Regions from separate parts of the Homo sapiens genome. Here region 1 is linked to region 2. Evidence: promoter capture Hi-C in human tissues and cell types (Jung and others, 2019). All regions are on one chromosome and are shown on one strand. The core of a region is centred on a gene start or on the middle of the fragment in contact, and the rest is flanking DNA. Distances in the headings are between cores, read along the strand shown.

What was found. The method cuts DNA at HindIII sites, captures the fragments that hold promoters and counts their contacts. A contact is called where the count stands out against the background at its distance.
Region 1: a fragment that was not itself captured here is called in contact with the fragment with the promoter of SYNGR1 in region 2 in 1 of the 25 tissues and cell types used here (dorsolateral prefrontal cortex).

What each region holds. Positions count from the first base shown.
Region 1 is chr22:40,354,889-40,360,942 of GRCh38, forward strand. ADSL (adenylosuccinate lyase) reads left to right here. Exons shown (of 13, transcript NM_000026.4): 5 at 3,976-4,147; 6 at 4,372-4,418; 7 at 5,514-5,604. Among named protein-coding and RNA genes, the nearest start is that of ADSL, 11 kb to the left of the region's middle. The HindIII fragment of the contact is 4,642 bases long and covers 1,496-6,054 here.
Region 2 is chr22:39,348,139-39,351,273 of GRCh38, forward strand. It overlaps SYNGR1 (synaptogyrin 1), which reads left to right and starts at 1,853. Exons shown (of 4, transcript NM_004711.5): 1 at 1,853-1,971. The coding sequence starts at 1,873. RefSeq lists a silencer at 1,900-2,059. The HindIII fragment of the contact is 13,153 bases long and covers 1-3,135 here.

The DNA of each region.
Region 1 (6,054 bases), core at 2,567-5,066, 1.0 Mb after region 2:
AAATCTAAATGTTCAATAATAAGAGAATAAGTAAGGCATAGTATTCATACATCCATAGGTTGGAATAACATGCAACCATTTAAATGATGCTTACAAGATCTAATGTGCAAATGCACTTAGGTTTGTGTTATGGTAACAAAGACAGTTTATAAATTGCACAAAAATTGGTTGAAAGTACACCATGATGTAAATGTTGATTACTCTGGTTTATGAGATAATAGGAAAATTAAATTTCTTTCTACTTTTTGAGTTTTGTTTTGTTTTTGGAGAGGGAGTCTTGCTCTGTTGCCCAGGCTGGAGTGCAGTGGTGTGATTTTGGCTCACTCTCACTACAACCTCTACGTCCTGGGTTCAAATGATTCTCCCGCCTCAGCCTTCCTAGTAGCTGGGACTACAGGCGCCTACCACCATGCCCGGCTAATTTTTTTATTGTTTGGAGAGATAGGGTTTCGCCATGTTAGCCAGGCTGGTCTCAAACTCCTGACCTCAAGTGATCTGCCCACTTGAGATCCGCCCACCTCGGCCTCCCAAAGTGCTGGGATTACAGGCGTGAGCCACCGCGCCCGGCCTAGACATTTCATATAAACAGAATCGCATACAATATGTGACCTTTTGTGTCTGGCTTCTGTTGCTGTTTTCAATATCCATGTTGAATCAGAACTTCGGTTCTTTTTATGACTGAAAAGCGTTCCATTGGTTGTACCATGTTTCATTTACCCAATTGTCAACAACTGATGGACATTTGGGTAATTTCTACTTTTTGGCTACTATGAATAATGCTGCCATGAACAAGTCCATGCTAATTTACTTCTTTCTTTGCTTACACCAATAATCTGTTAGCAGTTAACAAGGAAAACAGTAAGATTAATTTTGGGGATATACTATAGCTTGTGATGTGCCTCCTATGGACATTCCTAGTGTTACGCCTTGATGTTCCTAGCTGTCAGTGTCATTAGCCTAAGAGGAAAGAAATTCCATTTGGAATAGGTTAGGTTATCTATTAGAAATTAGGCTGGGTCCAGGTGCAGTGGCTCATGCCTGTAATCCCAGCACTTTGGGAGGCCAAGGTGGGTGGATCACCTGAGGTCAGGAGTTCAAGACCAGCCTGGCTCACATGGTGAAACCCTGTCTCTACTAAAAATACAAAAAAAAAAAAAAAAAAAATTAGCCGGACGCAGTGGCGCATGCCTATAGTCCCAGCTACTTGGGAGGCTGAGGCAGGAGAATTGTTTGAACCTGGGAGGCGGAGGTTGTAGTGAGCCAAGATTGCACCATTGCACTCCAGCCTAGGTGACAGAGCGAGACTCCACCTCAAAAAAAAAAAAGAAAAGAAAGAAAGAAATTAGGCTGGGCGGTTAGGCTGGGCAGCCGGGCGCAGTGGATCGTGCCTGTAATCTCAGCACTTTGGGAGGCCGAGGCAGGTGGATCACGAGGTCAGGAAATCAAGACCAGCTTGGCCAACATGGTGAAACTCCATGTGTGCTAAAAATAACACAAATAGCTGGGTGTGGTGGCAGATGCCTGTAATCCCAGCTACTCAGGAGGCTGAGGCAGGAGAATCACTTGAACCCCGGAGGCAGAGGTTGCAGTGAGCCAAGATCGCGCCGCTGCACTCCAGCCTGGGCGACAGAGTGAAATTCCGTCTCCAAAAAAAAAAAAAAAAGAAAGAAATTAGGCTGGTCATAGTGACTTATGGCTGTAATCTCGGCACTTTGCGGGGCCAAGGCAGGACGATAGCTTGAGGCATGGAGTTCGAGACCAGCCTGGGCAACATAGGGAGACCATGGCTCTTAAAAAAAATAAAGTTAGCCAGGTGTGGTGGCTTGTGCCTGTAGTTCCAGCCACTCAGGAGGCTGAGGCAGGAGGTTGGCTTGAGCCCAGGAGATTGAGGCTACAGTGAGCTGTGATTATACCAGCGTGTGCCAGCCTGGGGTGACAGAGTGAGACCCTGTCTCAAAAAAGAAAGAAATTGGACATTAGGGCAACTTATTCATAATTATATATTTTGTTTTTTTGTTTTGTTTTGAGACAGAGTCTCACTCTGTCACCTAGATTGGGGTACAGTGGTGTGATCTCAGCTCACTGCAGCCTCAGCTTCCCGGATTCAAGTGATTCTCCCACCTCAGCCTCCCAAGTACCTGGGATTACAGGTGTGCACCACCACACTTGGCCAGTTTTTGTATTTTTTGTAGAAACAGGGTTTTACCATGTTGGCCAGGCTGGTCTCAAACTCCTGGCTTCAAGTGATCCACCTGCCTCGGCCTCCCAAAGTGCTGGGATTACAAGCGTGAGACACCGCACCTGGCCTCGTAATTATGTTTTATGTTCAGAAACAGACCTTCAGTGGCTTGATTTGGGCTTTTTTTTTTTTTTTTTTTTTTTGACATGGAGTTTCGCTTTTGTCATCCAGGCTGGAGTGCAGTGGCACAATCTTGGCTCACCGCAGCCTCCGCCTCCTGGGTTCAAGTGATTCTCCTGCCTCAGCTTCCCGAGTAGCTAGGATTACAGGCATGCACCACCACGCCTGGCTAATTTTGTATTTTTAGTAGAGACGGGGTTTCTCTGTGTTGGTCAGGCTGGTCTCAAACTCCCGATCTCAGGTGATCCGCCCTCCTTGGCCTCCCAAAGTGCTGGAATTACAGGCATGAGCCATGGCACCCTACTTTGATTTAGGCTTAATGCTGGAAACAAAGCCATTAGCTGCTGTGTTTGAGTCCTCTGGTTATGTGTGTTGTGTAGCTGTTCTCCATAGCATGACTATTCCTCACTGGATCTTGACTCCTCACAAAGGCTTTCCTCTACTTCCAATCTAGAGCAGCCATCACCATTACCTTCATCGTTCTTTTATTCTTTTAGCACTTAAAATCTCAATAATTAATCTTGTTTCTTTTTTTTCATTTGTTTTTTTGAGACAGAATCTGGCTGTGTCGCCCAGTGCGGTGTCACAGTCTCGGCTCATTGCAACCTCTGCCTCTCAGGTTCGAGTGATTCTCCTGCCTCAGCCTCCCAAGTAGCTGGGATTACAAACACCCGCCACCACGCCCAGTTAATTTTTTGTATTTTTAGTAGAGACAGGGTTTTACCTGTCTCTGTTGGCCACGCTGGTCTCGAACTCCTGACCTCAAGTGATCCCCCCGTCTCAGCCTCCCAAAGTGCTGGGATTATAGGCATGAGCCACCGCGCCTGGCCTAATCTTGTTTTGTTTTCTTTTTTTACTCGTTTACAATGTAAGCAAGTGCCACTGGACAAGGACCCTGTCTGTGTTATTCCTTGTTGTATTTCCAATAGTAAGAGTACATCAGATACTTGGCAAATATTACACGAGTATCTAATGTATTTCTTACCAATGTCTGTGGATATAGCCATGAACAAAAGGGACATTGTCCCTGCCCTTATAATAAATTGTCTCTTGCCGTGCATCACAGTGGTTCATGCCTGTAATCCCAACACTTTGGAAGGCTGAAGTAGGTGGATCGCTTGAGACATAGAGTTTGAGACCAGCCTGAGCAACAAAGTGAGACCCCGTCACTACAAAAAATTTAAAAATTAGCCAGGCATGGTATTGCATGCCTGTGGTCCCAGCTACATGGAAGGCTGAGGCAGAAGGATCACTTGAGCTCCAGAGGTCGAGGCTACAGTCAGCTATGTTCATGCCACTGCACTTCAGCTTGGGCAACAGAGCAAGACCCAGTCTAGAAATAATAATAATTTAAAAATTGCCTCTTGATGAAGAAAGTACTATGCTAATCGCCTTTTAGTTTCATACTCCTTGACTATTTGTAAATGACATTGAATCTCCGTAACGATTATTTGGTTAAACATTTTATCTCTTGTTTTATCTTTACCAGTTACTCCCTCTCTTACTTAAATTGTTCTCCCTCCAAGGGGTAATGGTGGTTATTAAAAGAAGCAATGAAACCTTGATGATTTAAGGTCTCGGTCTGAGACTTTCGTGTGTTCTCTTTGGGTTTTCAGGCCTGCACAGCTGACCACAGTTGGGAAACGTTGCTGTCTTTGGATTCAGGATCTTTGCATGGATCTCCAGAACTTGAAGCGTGTCCGAGATGACCTGCGCTTCCGGGGAGTAAAGGGTACCACTGGCACTCAGGCCAGTTTCCTGCAGCTCTTTGAGGGAGATGACCATAAGGTATTCTGAAAGTGACCTGCAGGACACAGAAACTCAATGGTGGAGCCTAAGAGACAAGGCTGCCTTTGAGGATGATAGGAGAGATTGACTGTGGGATGGGTGGGGTCTTTCGACTAGAAGGAAGTTGTGGGGGTTAGGGAGCGAGACCTGGGTAGGATGACAGGTTGAGGCATTCTCACACTGGACACATGGATTATTATAAGGATGTGTCTTTTCTTTCCAAGGTAGAGCAGCTTGACAAGATGGTGACAGAAAAGGCAGGATTTAAGAGGTAGGTAAATGGGAATGTGTTGGCCTCCCTGTTAAGTTGATGGAAGTCCTATATTCAGTATACCTGCAGATTTGACCTTACAATTTTTGCCTTTTTCTTCCTTTGTTCTTCTACCCATTTTTTTTTTTCCTGTCTCTATCCTGGGTTTTACTTTCTTACTATCTGGATTCTTTTTTTTTTTTTTTTTTTTTCGCCTAATCGTCTTGCTGACATATTTTCTGGATTTCATTTTATTTTATTATTGTTTTTGAGACAGGGTCTTACTCTGTCACCCAGGCTGGAGTGCAGCGGTGTGATCTCGGCTCACGGCAGCCTCCGCCTCCCAGTTTCAAGCAGTCCTTCCACCTAAGCCCCCTGTGACTACAGGCATGCCTGGCTAATTTTTGTATTGTTTTTGTATAATTTTTGTATTGTTTTGTAGAGACCATGTTGCCCAGGCTGGTCTCCAACTCCTGAGATCAAGCGATCCACCTGCCTCAGCCTCAAAGTGCTAGGATTATAGGCATGAGCCACCATGCCTGACCTGCATTCTCTTTTTGTATAATCTATAGGAAAAAAGAAAATGATTTACTTCTGGTTTCTTTAGAATACCTTTATCCATGTTGTTACCATTTTTGTTTCTTTACTTAGGGCCCCCAACAGGTTAGGCTAAATCTGACCATTTCCATTGAGGTCCACCAGGTTCCACCATGGCTCCTTCTCCCAGGCATTTCTATTGGGCTGTGGCCAGACATGGGCACGTTGCACCATGTATCCTTCTTGAGTCAGGCCATTGTCCTGAGTATTAGTGAAAAGGGTGGAAGAATAGTTTATTCCAGGAGCAAGTTACCACTCAGGTCCACTGGTTGAGTATAACTTAGCATACCAATAAGACCAAGCTTTTCTTTAGGATGTGTTTTTCCTTGTTTGACAGAGTCATGTTTTGAATTATTATTATTTTATAAGAGTCTCCCAGTGATGCTTAGGCTGGCCTTAACCTCCTGAGTTAAAGCAGTCCTCCTCCGTTAGCCTCCTAAGTAGCTGGGACTACAGTCATGCACCACTGCAATGGCTTTAAAATATTTTAACCTAAGTCTCTCTTGTACTTATTCCTAGAGCTTTCATCATCACAGGGCAGACATATACACGAAAAGTGGATATTGAAGTACTGTCTGTGCTGGCTAGCTTGGGGGCATCAGTGCACAAGGTGAGTGGTGGCAGCATGTGGGGTGGGGACAGGAGCTTTGGGCACCACAGACAGACTGAATTAACCTCAGACTTTTACTTAACCATCTCTCTCAAGCAATATTTTACATTAGTTTTAATAATTTGTGGTCTGTAAATGAAACCCTTAAGGGGAAGACTCGTTTTGGCATTTTCTTTAAAGTTATCTCAAGCACTGCAAAACATCCATCTTGTTCAGTGGTATATTAAATTAATCTTTTTTTTTTTTCGAGATGGAGTTTCGCTCTTGTTGCCCAGGCTGGAGTGCAATGGTATGATCTCGGCTCACTGCAACCTCCACCTCCTGGGTTCGAGCGAGCCTCCCAAGTAGCTGGGATTACAGGCATGCACCACAATGTCTGGCTAATTTTAGTAGAGGCAGGGTTTCACCATGTTGGCCAGGCTGGTCTCGAACTCCTGACCTCAGGTGATC
Region 2 (3,135 bases), core at 603-3,102:
TTTGGTGAGGTGTATAACTATTCAAATCTTTTGCCCATTTTTTAAAAAGTGGGTCCTCTTATTATTATTGAGTTCGAACGTTCTTTATTTGGGATGCAAGTTCTTTAGATCTATGCTTTGCAAATATTTTCTCCCAGACTATCGTTTGTCTTTTCATACATTCTTTTAACAATGTCTTTTAAAGAACAGAAGTTCTTAATTTTGATAAAGTCCAGTTTATCAATTGTTTCTTTTATGAATCATGTTCTTCATGATTTTTTTTTTTTTTTTTTTTTTTTGAGACGGAGTCTCGCTCTGTTGCCAGGCTGGAGTGCTGTGGCGCGATCTCGGCTCACTGCAACCTCCACCTCCTGGGTTCAAGTGATTCTCCTGCCTCAGCCTCCCAAGTAGCTGGGACTACAGGAGCTCGCCACCACGCCCGGCTAATTTTTGTATTTTTAGTAGAGACCGGGTTCACCATGTTGGCCAGGATGGTCTCAATCACTTGACCTTGTGATCCATCCACCTTGGCCTCCCAAGGTGCTGGGATTACAGGCGTGAACCACTGCGCCCGGCCTTCTCTTGTGCTTTCTTCTAAAAGTTTTATATAGTCATAGTAGACACCTTATAAGTGTGCTGGATTAAATGTGAAAATGTATGTAAAGCCCTTAGCACAAGGCCTGGTAGAGACTAAACAATCAGCTGAGCCTAAGATGGACATTGACTATGTAATTTTTATAAGGAGCACCCTCAGGCCCAGCACACATTTCCTCCACACAGATGTTGTGTCCTGTCATCACAGAATGGCAGGATACCAGAGAAGCAAAAGCCTCCACCCATATCCTCATCCAACCTGCTCCTGGAACCAGTGAAGGTGACTGCAGACATAGAGAGGCCATAGAGCTACAGGGCAGCAGGAGAGCCAGCCCTGGAAGGTGGCCCTTCCCCTGCAGGGAGCACTCCTCCATCTAGCCTCCGTTTCCATGAAACCTGGAGGTCTAGCCCAAGCTGTGATGGGGTGATGGGGACTAGGCTCTGTTTACTGAGCACCTACTGTATGCTAGGCCCTTGGGTAAGGCATTGAATAAGTTAGACAACACCTGGGCCTCGGGAGCTCACAGACTAGCAGCAGAAGAGGCCATGAACAAATGATTGCGTAATTAATTGCTAGATTCAGGAAAGGGGCAACGTTCTGGGGTAGGAGGGGATGGGGAAGAGGAAGTCTCAGCCGCCGCCTCTGTGCCAGGCCCCTCCAGGCTGGGGGTGGGAGGGTGCGCGGGCACAGGGACACACATGACGTCATCGTAAGAGGCAGGGGAAGGGTGGTCCTGGGAGGTGGGGGCTGCTCTGGAGGGCTGTAAGAGAGGGTCATTCACTCGTGGTTCATTCATTCGAGAAATATTCATGCGGCGCCTACTGCGTACCAAGCACCCTCTAAGAAGGACGAACACAGCTCCTGCCCTCTCATTATATTTGGGGCCGACAAAGTGGCAGGAAACAGCCAAACAAATCAAGCGTGAAGATGGTTTCAGCAGAGCCGACGGCTCAGAGGGGCTGCGACCGGGGCAGGGGACCGGGGATGCGGGGCAGGGACACGGCCCACACTTGCTGTGCACGCACCGCCCTCCCCCAAACACTTTGCAAAGAGGTCACCGCACTGGCTGCGAGCGCGCCCTGAGCCCCGGGCCGCAGCACGCGCGCCCCCGCGCCCGAGGTCGCGCGCTGCCCAGCCCCCCGCCCGCGCCCCGCGAGCTGCGCCCGCCGCGCACGACGCCCCCTCGCGGGAGCCCTGGGCCGCCGGCCGCGCGCGCAGGGGAGGGGGCGGGGGCGCCGCGCACGCGCACGGGCCGGCGGCGCGCGCCGAGCGGGGGGCACCGCGCGGGTGCAGCCACGATGGAAGGGGGTGCGTACGGAGCGGGCAAAGCCGGGGGCGCCTTCGACCCCTACACCCTGGTCCGGCAGCCGCACACCATCCTGCGCGTCGTGTCTTGGGTAAGGACGGACTGGCCGACGGCTCTGCCAGGCCGGGGTGGTGGGGGTGTGAGCAAAGGCGGCGCGCCCGGACCGACCCCGACCCCGACCCCAACGGGCCCCCGGCGGCGGCGCGGCGGCGGGCGAGGAGCTGTCCTGCCTGCGGGGCCCGCTGCCGCCGCTCCTCCTTCCCGGGCCCGGGGCGGGCGGGATCCCTGGTGCTCGCGGGAGACGCCGCTCCGGCTCCCGGAGCCCTGGTTTCCTGGGGCCCCCGGTTCGTGCGCCCCCCTTCCCGCCCCGATTGCTGTGACCTCCAGGCCGCGGCTATGCCGCGAAAGGCTCGGATTGTGCGCGGCCGCCAGGGCGGACTGGGGACCGTGGGGACGGAGCCAGGGTTTAAGGTGGCCTTTTTTGGGGGGTGGATCAGGGCGTGGACCATCTCGGTGGGGTGCATGCCGCGCCTGCGATGGACGTTGGAGGAGGAGAGGGCCGGGAACCGGGTTCGTATTGCCTAGCCCGGCCCGTGTGGAGCGATGAGTCGGGAACTGAGTACCTCTCTTCCACCCGGGAACTGCCTCTCCTTCTCTGCGTGACCTTGGGCTGGGAGCCACCCAGGAAATGTTCTCGAGAAATGAGGACTTCAATTCCGAGGTGGGGAGTGTCATCTCCTCTCTCATGCCTCAGTTTCCCAATTTATAGACAAGGTGGGCGGAGCCTTCTTGAGGCCCCCTTGGGCTCTGACATTTCATGAACCGGTAACACCCCTCCCACTCAGCATGCACCTGGATGCCCAAGGCGGGTGTCTGGGAGAAAGGTCTGCTCCCACAGTGAAGAGGCCAGGGTGGCCTCCAGCCTAGCTGGGGGGCAGGGTCCTCAGTGCAGAGGGCTGAGTGGGCTCTTGTTCAGACGGGTGGTCAGGGAGAGGATGGGTCAGAGACAGTGAGCACAGAGGGAGGGGTTCAGGTGCCTTGAGTGGCACCTCATGGAAAGAAGCCCTGCTGGGGTCTGGAGAGGGGGTTTCTGGGGCTCCCTGGGTTTGGCTGGCTGTATCCCAGAAACTCCCACTCGAGGTTCTGGCCTCTGCAGGCCTGGGGCCCGTTCCTTGTGGGCTTAGACTAGGAATGGGCTAGACTGTCAGGGACCCCAGGGGCTACCCCAAGGCCAGCTGTGACCTCAGGGTGCCCA